Regions from separate parts of the Homo sapiens genome. Here region 2 is linked to region 1. Evidence: promoter capture Hi-C in 16 types of primary human blood cells and fetal thymus (Javierre and others, 2016). All regions are on one chromosome and are shown on one strand. Each heading gives the region's core, a stretch centred on a gene start or on the middle of the fragment in contact. The rest is flanking DNA. Distances are from core to core; before and after follow the strand shown. Region 1 holds the start of FBP1 (fructose-bisphosphatase 1). Region 2 overlaps FANCC (FA complementation group C).

Region 1 (6,997 bases), core at 1,293-3,792:
CACCACACCCAGTCGACAAGCCCTCTTTTTAAAATATATCCCTGGTCCTCAAAGGCAGTTAAAGCTGTGAGCCACCTATACTAGCTGTAAATTAAAGCTTAAGATTTCACCTGGGTATGTTTCTAAAATAAGAATCCTTAGGAATGTATTATTAAGAGGGGCCAGAGGCAACAGTAATGGAGTCATCACCTTCCTTAACATGTCTGCTTAATATTCAAAAATAAATGTGATCATACCACTCCTTTACATGAATTACCTCCACCAGTCCATACTGTGGGACCAAAGCCAGACAGCCTGCCAGTAAGAAAAGGAATCTAGATTGCAGGATGCGGGGCGGAGAAGAGTTTTTAAGAATGGAGAAATGCATTCCAAACCCAAGTAGCAGGGTTGTATTTGTTCAGGTCAGCTCTGAGCATCATGCGTCTTTTTTTTTTTTTTTTAAGACAAAGTCACGCTCTTGTCGCGCAGGCTGGAGTGCAATGATGCGATCTCGGCTCACTGCAACCTCTGCCTCCTGGGTTCAAGCAATTCTCCTTCCTCAGCCTCCCGAGTAGCTGGGATTACAGGCGCCTGCCACCACACCCAGCTAATTTTTGGTAGAGACGGGGTTTCACCATGTTGATCAGGTTGGTCTTGAACTCCTGACCTCAGGCAATCCACCTGTTTCGGCCTCCCAAAGTGCTGGGATGACAGGCTAGAGCCTACGCGCCCAGCCCATCATGTGTCATTTTTATAGTGTGCATAAGTGCGGGGAATGTTAGTAAAGTGTATGGACAATCTGAAAACCCAGTTACACTTCAGTTAAAAGTGTGGATCAGTTAGCTAGAAAATACCTGCGCACGGCGGCTCATGCCTGTAATCCCAGCACTTTGGGAGGCCAAGGCATCACCGGAGGTCGGGAGTTCGAGACCAGCCTGACCAACATGGAGAAACCCCGTTTCTACTAAAAAAAATTACAAAATTAGCTGGGCATGGTGGCACATGCCTGTAATCCCAGCTACTCGGGAGACTGAGGCAGGAGAATCGCTTGAACCTGGGAGGCAGAGGTTGCGGTGAGCCAAGATCGCACCATTGCACTCCAGCCTGGGCAACAAGAGCAAAATTCCATCTCAAAAAAAAAAAAAAAAAGAAAAGAAAAAGAAAATACCTGTGCACACCAACACAAACGAAAGGATGTTGTGTGACTTACAAAAAACCTCACAAGAAGGGGTCCTTTGAGTCTCCACTCCACTTGACCCCTTGCTACTCACAATGTGATGAGTAGACAAACAGTATCTGATGGGCAGCACCCACCACAGGAGAACTTCTTAGAAATGCAGAATCTCAGGACCTGTCCCAGAGCTATGGAAGGAGGGCACACATCTTACCAAGATCCCCAAATGATTCCTGTGCCCAGTGACGTTCGAGATGCACTCCATAGCGCATTCAGAACCATTCTACAAACCACTTTTGAGCTTTCCACTAATTGGGCAGAGGCTGCACACACCATCATTGCAAATCGATAGGGGTTTTGAAGCCCTGGGTGTTTCCTGTTTCTGGCACAGCATGGCAACTGTCCCAGCAAGGGGCAGCCCACGGGAGCTCCTTTGCACACAAGCCCTGCTGCTCCTAAAGGCTCTGGACACACAGGAGACCTCCCAGCCTGCTTGCGGGGGGGGCGGGGGGGACACTCGCTCCTAACAGGTCTTGTTTCAGGTCAGAGATAACTGGATTAGAAACCTGACTTGGGTCCCTAATTGCAGAAAGAGTGAAGGAGGACAAAGAAGAAATGGGGAAGGAAGGCACCTGAGCTAGCACTTTCCTGTCTGAGGCTAGGGCGGGTATGACGGGCAGGCCAGGTGCCCACACTTGGCCGGCTGAGAGGGGTACGAGGCAGGCTGCTCAGGGCAGAGAAGAGGAATGCAAGATGGAATCAGGTGTACACCTGTGAGACGGACCCCCAGGTGGGCCCCTCCAAGGTCAAGGGAGGAGATGAGGACTTGAGTGAGGCTGAGCCAGCTTCTGGAGAGAGGGGCTACCAGACAGAGAGCGAGAGAGGCGCTCAGACATCAGACGGACAGACAGAGGCTGACGGCAGGAGGCTCAGAGGGCCCAACGTCAGCCCGCCGGGCAGGCTCCCCAGGCAGACAGACAGGACGGGGCCCACCGCCCAAGGCCCGACTCACAGGTGCGCGATGCCCGCCTTGCGCACCGCCGAAGAGATGGCTTTGACTGCTGTGCAGAGCGAGTTGAGCAGCTGGGTCAACTCGCCCGTGCCGCGGGCCTTCCTGCCCTCCTCCATGACGAAGCGGGTCAGGGTGTTGACGTCCGTGTCGAAGGGCGCCTGGTCAGCCATGCTTGAACCGGGTAGAGCGCGGGGCTGCAGGTGCAAGCGGCAGGTGCGGGGCTGCAGGTGCGGGCGGCAAGAGAGGGCAGTAGGCACTGGCCGCAGGTGCGGAGCTGCAGGTGCGGGCGGCAGGTGCGGGCCGCGGGACCTGGCGGGAGGACTGACAGACCGACTGCCGCCCCGAGTGTCCGCAGCGCTCGTGGTGCAACTGGGCCAGGCCAGGCGCCGGCGGGTGAATCGCGGAAACCTTTAGACGCGGGTCGGCCCCCCGCCCCCGGGAACACTCTTGCGCCCCGCCTACCCCGCGGACCAGACCGCGGCTCCGCCTGCTTGGATCTTCAGACAAGGTCGGGGATCCTCCCTGCGGTCTCCCAACCCCCGCCCCCACGCGCCCTGCCGCCCCCTAGTCTTCCTGGGCTGTCGCCCCCCACACACACCCCTCCGTGCCCTCCACCCGCACTGTGGAGCGGGACTCGGGCCATCGGACTCTGCCAGAGAGAAAGCTATGACTGTTTCCTCCAAAATCATAAAACGGAAGTTCAGAAAGGTTAAGTAACTTGCTCAATGCCACCAGCTAGGCAGCGAAACCCGCAGCCAGTCCACATGGCCTGGCTTTAGCTCTGCAGCTCCTGCCCCGTGTGGCTGCCTGCCCCCGCCCCCTGCCCAAGCCCCGTCCACTCTGCCTGGCCTGTCACCTGGCCCTTCTGTCCCCGCTAGGAGACACAGAGTCCCCGTTTCTCACCCATCTGAGGGCCCACGTCTGAATCCTTAATCCAGGCCTCTTCTCAAGATTCCTAGAATTCGAGAGCTATTGAGTATTTGAATTTCCAAGATGTGAGTCTCGCCCGGAAGTTTCCCGGAAAACGGTCGCTGACACAGAGTCCTCGGCTACCACACAAAGGCCAGAGGGCTCCACCGCCCGCATCCTGACCCCCTGGTAGCCACAATGCTGCAATTGATGTGCTGATTCACGAAACAACACCTATTGAGCACCTGCTGTGCTGAACACTGTCCTACCTTCCAGGGGTGGAGCCTGATCCAAACAGACAAAACTCCTGCCCTTTTCGAGTGTACGTTTTCACAGAGAAACAGTAAAAATAAATATATAAACAATAGATTAGTTTGTTACATAAGCCATAAGTACCATAGAGAGAAACGAAATAGAAAAGGAAGACACGGAATGTGGAGGGGAGAAGAGGGTGAGCAGAGGCCTCAGTAAAAGCTTCTCTGAGAAAGGGATATGTGAGCAAAGAGGTGAAGGATGCAACGCGCCGGTGGAGATGGGAAGGAGAGCGGTTTCCTCACCGGGAGAGCCAGTGCACAGGCCCTGGGGTAGGAGACCATGTTTCAGGTTCAGGGAATGGCCAGGAGACCGGTGGAGCTGAAATAGAGCTAGCAAGGGTCAGAGGTGGAGGAGATAAGGCCAGCGGGAGGATGCAGAGGTGAGGTCTAGAGGGCCAAGTGAGGTTTGACTTTGACTAGGAGGAACCCACTGGAGAGTTTGGAGAAGAAGAGAGGCATGGTCTACCCTGTGTCTTCATACTGCGGCTACTGTGTGAAGATCAGACTGAAGACAGTGCCCTCCAGGTTACTAGGAGATAGTGAGCCAGGTGTTAGCAGTGGAGGTGGTGGATTCTGGACATATTTTGAAGGTAGAGCTGATGGGATTCGTTGACAGATGAGATATGTGAGAGACAGGAGTCTCGGATGATTCTAAGGTTTGAGGCCTGAGAAACTAGAAGAATGCAGTTGTCCTCGACTGCGATGGGGAACACCGAGAGGGGCGTGTGCTGGAGGCAGGACTGACAATTAGGAGCTAAGTGTGGGACCTGCTAAGTTTGAAATGCCTTCTAGACATCCAAGGCAATGTCAAATAGACAGATTTATGTATCTGGAGTTCAGAGGAGAGATCCATGCTGCAGGTATAAATTGGAAAAGCCAACTGGAAAAACCAACCAAAAACCAAGAGATGTGACATCCGGGAAGCCAGATGAAGAAGGTAAGTAAAGGCGGGCTGACCCATGTGCCAAGCGGTGTGGATGGGGCAGGCAGGACAAGCTCTGAAAATTGACTGCTGGATTCACCGTGGAGACCTGGGGTGCAGATTCCTGTGCCCAGGGTTGTCAGATGCGGCGGCGTTGAATGAAGGAAGGTGGTGGTACCACCAGGAAAGACAGCGACTGTCTCCTCAAAGCCCCAGAGGGGACTTAGATGCCTGGCAAAGAGAGTTGATCCTTTAAGGGTCTTATTTAACTCTTTGTTCCTCAGGCAACTTTTCAGGAAAAACCCTGTGTTAAAAAAAATAGTAAGAGAAATACATCCTTAAACATAAAAACTCAAATAGGCCCGGCTCACTGGCTCACACCTGTAATCCCAGCACTTCACTTTGGGAGGCCGAGGCGGGCAGATCACCTGAGGTTGGGAGCTCGAGACCAGCCTGACCAACATGGAGAAACCCCGTCTCTACTAAAAGTACAAAAATTAGCTGGGCATGGTGGTGCATGCCTGTAATTCCAGCTACTCAGGAGGCTGAGGCAGGAGAATCGCTTGAACCTGGGAGGCGGAGATTGCAGTGAGCAGAGATGGCACCATTGCAGTCCAGCCTGGGCATCAAGAACAAAACTCCATCTCAAAAAAAAAAAAAAAAAAGAAAAACAAACAAACTGGAGGCTGAGGCGGGCAGATCTTGAGGTCAGGAGTTCAAGACCAGCCTGGCCAACATGGTGAAACCCATCTCTACTAAAATAAAAAATTAGCCGGGCATGGTGGTGTGCACCTGTAATTCCAGCTACTCAGGAGGCTGAGGCAGGAGAATCGCTTGAACCCGGGAGACAGAAGTTGCAGTGAGTCAAGATCCTGCCGCTGCACTCCAGCCTGGGCAACAGAGCGAGATTCAATCTCAAAAAAAAAAAAAAGAACTGAAATGTGATGACTAGTATTTTTGGCATAGTAACTAGTTACTAGGGGAGAGCTAGAGCTAGTAACTAGGGGAGTGTGCCCCTTTACTTGCCAGACTCTCAGTCCCTCAGGATCTTGGATTGGCTAGGACCGTAAAAGTCATCTAGTCCAGCCAACCCTCATTGGACACCATCCCTGATAAGAGGTGAAGAGCTTGGGATCTGCATTAAGCAAACTTGTTTGAGTCCCAGCTCCAGCCCTCAGCAGCCAGAGATCTCGGACCAGTTACCTAATCTCTGTAAACCCAGTTTGTTCATCCATATAGTGGAATAATGGTTCCATCTGGCAGTGGTGTCATCGGGCTGAAATGAGATGGCATTGGCAGAGTGCTTAGCTCAGAGCTACACACAGGGGACACACTGAATACGTGGAGGAGACCCCTGTCTAGCTCAGTCACTTCTGCTTGTCACCCACGATGATGGGCAGCTCATTGCCTACAAGGCAAGCCATTCCCCTTGGGACTAGGCCACGTCGCATTGTGGTGAAGTGCACAGACTCTGGGGCTGCATGGCTTGGGTCCAAACCCTGGCCTGGCCACTTACTGGCTGTGCAAGCCTGTGCAATTGGCTAAACCTCACCAAGCAACCATTGGCTCATCTGTAAACTGGGGCTAATGATTGTAGCCACCTCATAGGGTTGCTGGGAGAATTATACAGGCAGTGCTGGTAGTGTTTAAGAACAGTGCCCAGCATGTAGTAAGTACACAGTATGTAAGTGTTTGCTTCGTTACATGGGTAGGGCCAACTGTTGTTTTCATGTGAACAGAAGCAAGAAAGTTCCCTGGCCATCAAAAGGGGCTAGAGGGATGTGGGAATTGGCAGCTGAGCCTGTATTTGCCTGGTGTGCAGTGATATCCCCTCCATCATATTGGTCGATTGTGACTCGCTCTTTTCTGGGTCAAGATGCATAAAGCCCATCACCCAGGTATTAGCAAGAGACAGAGGAAGGCGGCCACCTCACATGGGTTCCTGGCCTGTGGGTTGGGCCCCTCCCTCCTCCACCCACCACCCTCGCAGAGTTGCTTCTTGCCACATACTCCAACTTCACATGGGATTGCAGATTCAAGTGATGTGAGCAGTATTACCACATGTGTAACACTCGAAATCCTGCGAAGAATCAGTGCTCATGCATTTCCTCACCCAGCTCCCACGATGGGGTTATGTTGGAGGCGGGCAGTGGAGAAGTAACAGTGTGGACAGTCCCTGCCCCTACAACAGCCGCCCTCAACCCAGGGCTCCACTGCTTACTTTCCCCTCTGTGGGGGCGGTTAGTGCCACAGGAAAGAAAAACAGGCCAGGCACAGTGCACACACCTGTAATCCCAATGCTCTGGGTTGCCGAGGCAGACAGACCACTTGAGCCCAGGAATTTTAAAAGCGGCCTGGACAACATAAGGAAAACACTGTCTCTAAAAAAATTTAAAAATTACCCAGGAGTGGTGGCGCATGCCTGTAGTCTCAGCTACTGGAGAGGCTGAAGGAGGAGGATCACTTGAGCCCAAGAGGTCGAGGCTGCGGTGAGCCGTGATCACAGCACTGCACTCCAGCCTAGGCAATAGAGTGAGAGTGTGTCTCTAACAAAAACACAAAAAGAAAAACAAAAGCCAAGTGGTGTATGTGAGAGGGATTGCAGTAGCATGGTCCTTCCTTAAACACCTCCCCCAGCTCCTGTGGCCCCGGGGGCCTGGTGTGGAAACTAAACAGCAAACATCTAT
Region 2 (4,016 bases), core at 837-3,336, 470 kb after region 1:
CTTGACTTTCTTTCGTCTTGCTCACCAAGCAGTCAGGGCACCATGCCAGGAACTGACCTTTTTTTGTATAAAAGGAAACAGAGAAAAGTTCTCAACAGAATGTAGTCAGATTTTTATATTGTGGGAAAAAGAACAAAAGGCTCCTTGAAGACTCGCCTATCACAGCCACAAATCAATTAAAGCCCCACGCAGTCAGACCTCCGCCGAGCCAGTGTTCCCATACGAATGTAGGCTTGCCTTTGCTTCTTGCTATATTGGGGGTCAGGGCGGGGGGTCGGGGGGAACACACACACATGCACGCACGTGTACACAAGCACGGTCATACACACATGCATGCACACACAAGAACACATTTGTTTTAGATGCCGGAACAATCTGTTCATACGTGTTTAATGCTCAAGCAGAGGCCACAAGTCTGTGGAACCCACATAATAATGGTAATTATAAGTCTGCAGGTTGCTTTTGCATAAAAAATACTCATTCCATGCTGAGATGTTTCTGCTTGCTACAAGAATGGTACACCCAGTCGTGACTTGGAAAACAAAGCAAAGCAAAAACCGAAAGCCCATAGCTCCAAATGCCACATGGAACTCGTGAACAGCTATGTTCCATCACTTCTGAAAGAATACTTAGGCCTATTCTGAGAATTCCCATGACCGATTTTATGGATTTTGTGTGAGGCGTTTTTTTTCCCTGGAAGTCAAGGCCTCATTCAATGAAGTCTGTCATAAACTCCAGTACACTGGGTGTGTTGTGTGAGCTCCTCTGACCACAATACAAGACCGTGAGAAACTGCACCATCGGGCTCTTCCACGGGGAGCGGCAGCGCTCCAGCAGGGCAGGCCTCACTCTCCCCACCTCGCCCCTCAGCCGGCCCAGCCTGCCGGGTCTGATGGTGTCTACGGGAGCCCAAGGCCATTCTGCCATCTAACTGGGTCTGCAAAAATGTCAGGGTTTAGGAGGCTATGCCTTTATATCTGTTTTTTCTCTTGACCCACAACCGACTTTCTGCCCTTGTCCAATAATCCCTAAGATGGGGTCTATCTTCCTTTATGTCTGGCCCAGACTGTCTTTCCCTTCAGAGGCCGTCCATGCTCATGGGCTTCCACTTGAACACCGATAACTAACTTTAAACATGTCCTAAGTTTTTCAGGAGAAAGATAAAAGCTTTCTTTTCTTTTTAAAGTATTTTTTATCCTGCATTATAAAGACATATATGCTTACTATGGAAAATTTGAAAAGAGAAAAAGAAGAACCATTAAAATGATCTATAACTCTACCATCCAAAAAGACTCACTGTTAATAATTCGGTTTATATACTTCTTGTCTTTTTTCTACGCACTGAGACCATACCACTCACTACACATAATGCCTTGTATCTTTCATTTTTCTCTCCATAATGTACTATAAGCAGTTCAGTTCACTGTATCTATAGAACATGCTCTTCAAGACCTTTTTTTTTTTTTGGAGACAGAGCCTTGCTCTGTCACCCAGGCTGGAATGCAGTGGTGCAATCTCTACTCACTGCAACCTCTGCCTCCTGAGCTCAAGCGATCCTTCCATCTATCTCAGCCTCCCGAGTAGCTGGGACTACAGGCACACATTACCATACCTGGCTAATTTCTTTATTTATTTTTTTGTAGAGACAGGGGTCTATGTTGCCCAGGCTGGTCTCAAACTCATGGATTCAAGTGATACGGCCACCTCGGCCTTCCAAAGTGCTGAGATTACAGGCATGAACCACCACACCCGTCCAAGAGCATGATTTTTCATGGTATGTAACAGAATGCTATTCCATGGTTAGGATATACCACACTTTATTTGGCCAGTAGCCTTACTATTGAAAGTTCAGGCCATTTCCCATTGTTGTATTTATGAACAATGCTGTGCTGAATATTCTTATACATAAGCCTTTGCATGGATCTCTATTCCCCAGGGTAATTCCTAGAAGTGGAACCACAGGGTTAAAGGGTATGAACCCTTGCCTGATTTTTTTTTTTCCTTTTTTTCTCTAGGCATCATTGTACCTTACTGATTCTTAAGGGTATCTAAACGACTTTTTTTTATTTTGTTGTGATCTGATTCAGTTGTTGGCAAAAGGAGATGAACTCTGGCTGCTGGTGGAAAGGGTGGCTTGCCCATGAGTGGGACAGGCCTTCTCACAGGCAGGACACATCCTGGGCGGGGACACGCTTGGTCTTTGCACCCATGTTCTTCACCTCAAGGACATCCACAGAGGCAGTGACGCCAGGCCCAGCACACGATGCGGGGATACGCCACCAGCTGATTTAATTGTGCCTTTTTAAGTAAATGCACAAATGCAGAGATACTGCTAATTTCAATTCAATCACATACGAATCATGCTTTCTAACACAGTTCACAGTTTGTCTCTCAAGCCTCCCAACAGACCATCAAGGGATTAAAGCTCACAAAACCCAGGAAAACAAGAGGTACGTATCATTCATTAAACTAAAATCCCCTTCCCAGGACGCCACATACACCAATGCCTCAGGCAGGCACCAGCAAGGAAGGGGCTCTGGAGTCACCAACATGAGCACTGGATTGAACTGCCAGGCAGATGGGCACCTGTGACAGAATGGGGGGAAGGGAAATGGATGCCTGCCACTGCCCCACTCACATTGAGCCAATACGTTCTCATCCAAAATCCTAGGCATCCCCTGAGGGAGAACTACGCAAGGGTTTTATTTTTTCATAAAAAAGGACCAAGTTAGCTAGTAGAAGATGTGCCAATGTAGAACTTTCTAGAAATTAAGTGTTATTGAATAATTTATTTCTTTATACTTCAAAAGTGATTCTCTGTCAGTAACCTTTTGACTGTGATGGAATTGAACACATATCTACCAACTTAGCTTATTCAGAATCAAATAAGACAGAATATAAAAGGGCTTTAAAAACCATATGTGCCCCGTACATCTTATTACTGTTAAAAACATCAACCAGGATTTTCCTTAGCTTAACGTGATCTTTTAAAGGGGAAGAAATAAAAAGCTTTCTTTTTAATCAGACAGCAATCCTCAAATACATACGTGGGTTATAATTTTTTCACAAAGCTTTATTTCTGATCCAAAATAAATTATCACCAAATTTCAACTTTTTAAAATCTAAAACTATTTTTCTTTCCTATGCCATGCAAGCCTTTAAACAAAATACGCAGACATCTTTATTAGTCTGTGTGTTTTCAAACAACAGAAAATGCCAAAGCCAAGAGAAGCAGGGCTCTATACAAAATGAGCCTTGTCCTCTTTAACTACTAAGATCAGCATAGAGCACTGGCAGTTGAAGTTTTAAGAACCTAGCAAATCAATGCTTGCAAGGGAGGTGCCAATGCCTTTAATCAAAGCATTGCTTCCTGTAATTATTATATTCCACATAAAATAACAACTGTCTTTGCCACAGACAGTTATCCAGTCCCATACTTAGCTGCTCTGTTATTTAGGAAATGACCAACTTCTTTTTCAGAAGCAAAGTGGTTAATATCATCTGATTACTTTAGTAAGAGATGTAAATAAAGCCAGTAATGTGAGGATCTGTTGACTGATCCAAGAAAGGAGACAGTCAAGATGGAAGCAAGCCCTGGCCGGGCTGCTGGGGAGCGAGACAGGGCCCTGGCTGTGGCCAGGCTCTGCTGCCGGCACACCCCTCAGAACAGCCCGCCTCTGCAGGGCACGCCTTGGAGGACGCGACCCTGGGGCAGATATGGCAGCTGAGCAATAACAGATCAAATGACCTTGGGGAAGAAGGGTCTTCGTTTTGCAGGAGAATGGGCTGGCAGCGTCTCGTCTCTGGCCACCTCGGTGGGGACAGGAGAACGCCTCTGACCACAAGGCTGGAGATCACCATGCCTGCAGGTTGCCATGACATATGCCATCTGTGGGCAGAGCTCAGGTGTCATGGAAGCCAAGCCCACAACAGAGCCCCTCTCTGCAAGCTCCTCTCAGCCCCCCAGAGCCCACCCCAAACACATGCAGTGGGGCCTGCTACCCACCATAGTCTGT

What was found. Contacts are between HindIII fragments. The CHiCAGO score rates a contact against its expected background, and 5 or more counts as called.
Region 2: a contact is called between a fragment that was not itself captured here and the fragment with the promoter of FBP1 in region 1, in 4 of 17 cell types (megakaryocytes, naive CD4 T cells, endothelial precursors and 1 more). The highest score is 6.6, in megakaryocytes.

Annotation. Positions count from the first base shown.
Region 1 is chr9:94,636,976-94,643,972 of GRCh38, forward strand. FBP1 (fructose-bisphosphatase 1) reads right to left here and starts at 2,543. Exons shown (of 7, transcript NM_000507.4): 1 at 2,166-2,543. The coding sequence starts at 2,335. RefSeq lists a silencer at 2,617-2,676. The HindIII fragment of the contact is 3,451 bases long and covers 96-3,546 here.
Region 2 is chr9:95,107,457-95,111,472 of GRCh38, forward strand. FANCC (FA complementation group C) reads right to left here. Exons shown (of 15, transcript NM_000136.3): 13 at 4,007-4,016. LOC107987102 (a long non-coding RNA gene) reads left to right here. Exons shown (of 2, transcript XR_001746847.2): 2 at 1-1,290. It also overlaps a transcript of AOPEP not described here. Among named protein-coding and RNA genes, the nearest start is that of MIR3074, 23 kb to the left of the region's middle. The HindIII fragment of the contact is 1,842 bases long and covers 1,166-3,007 here.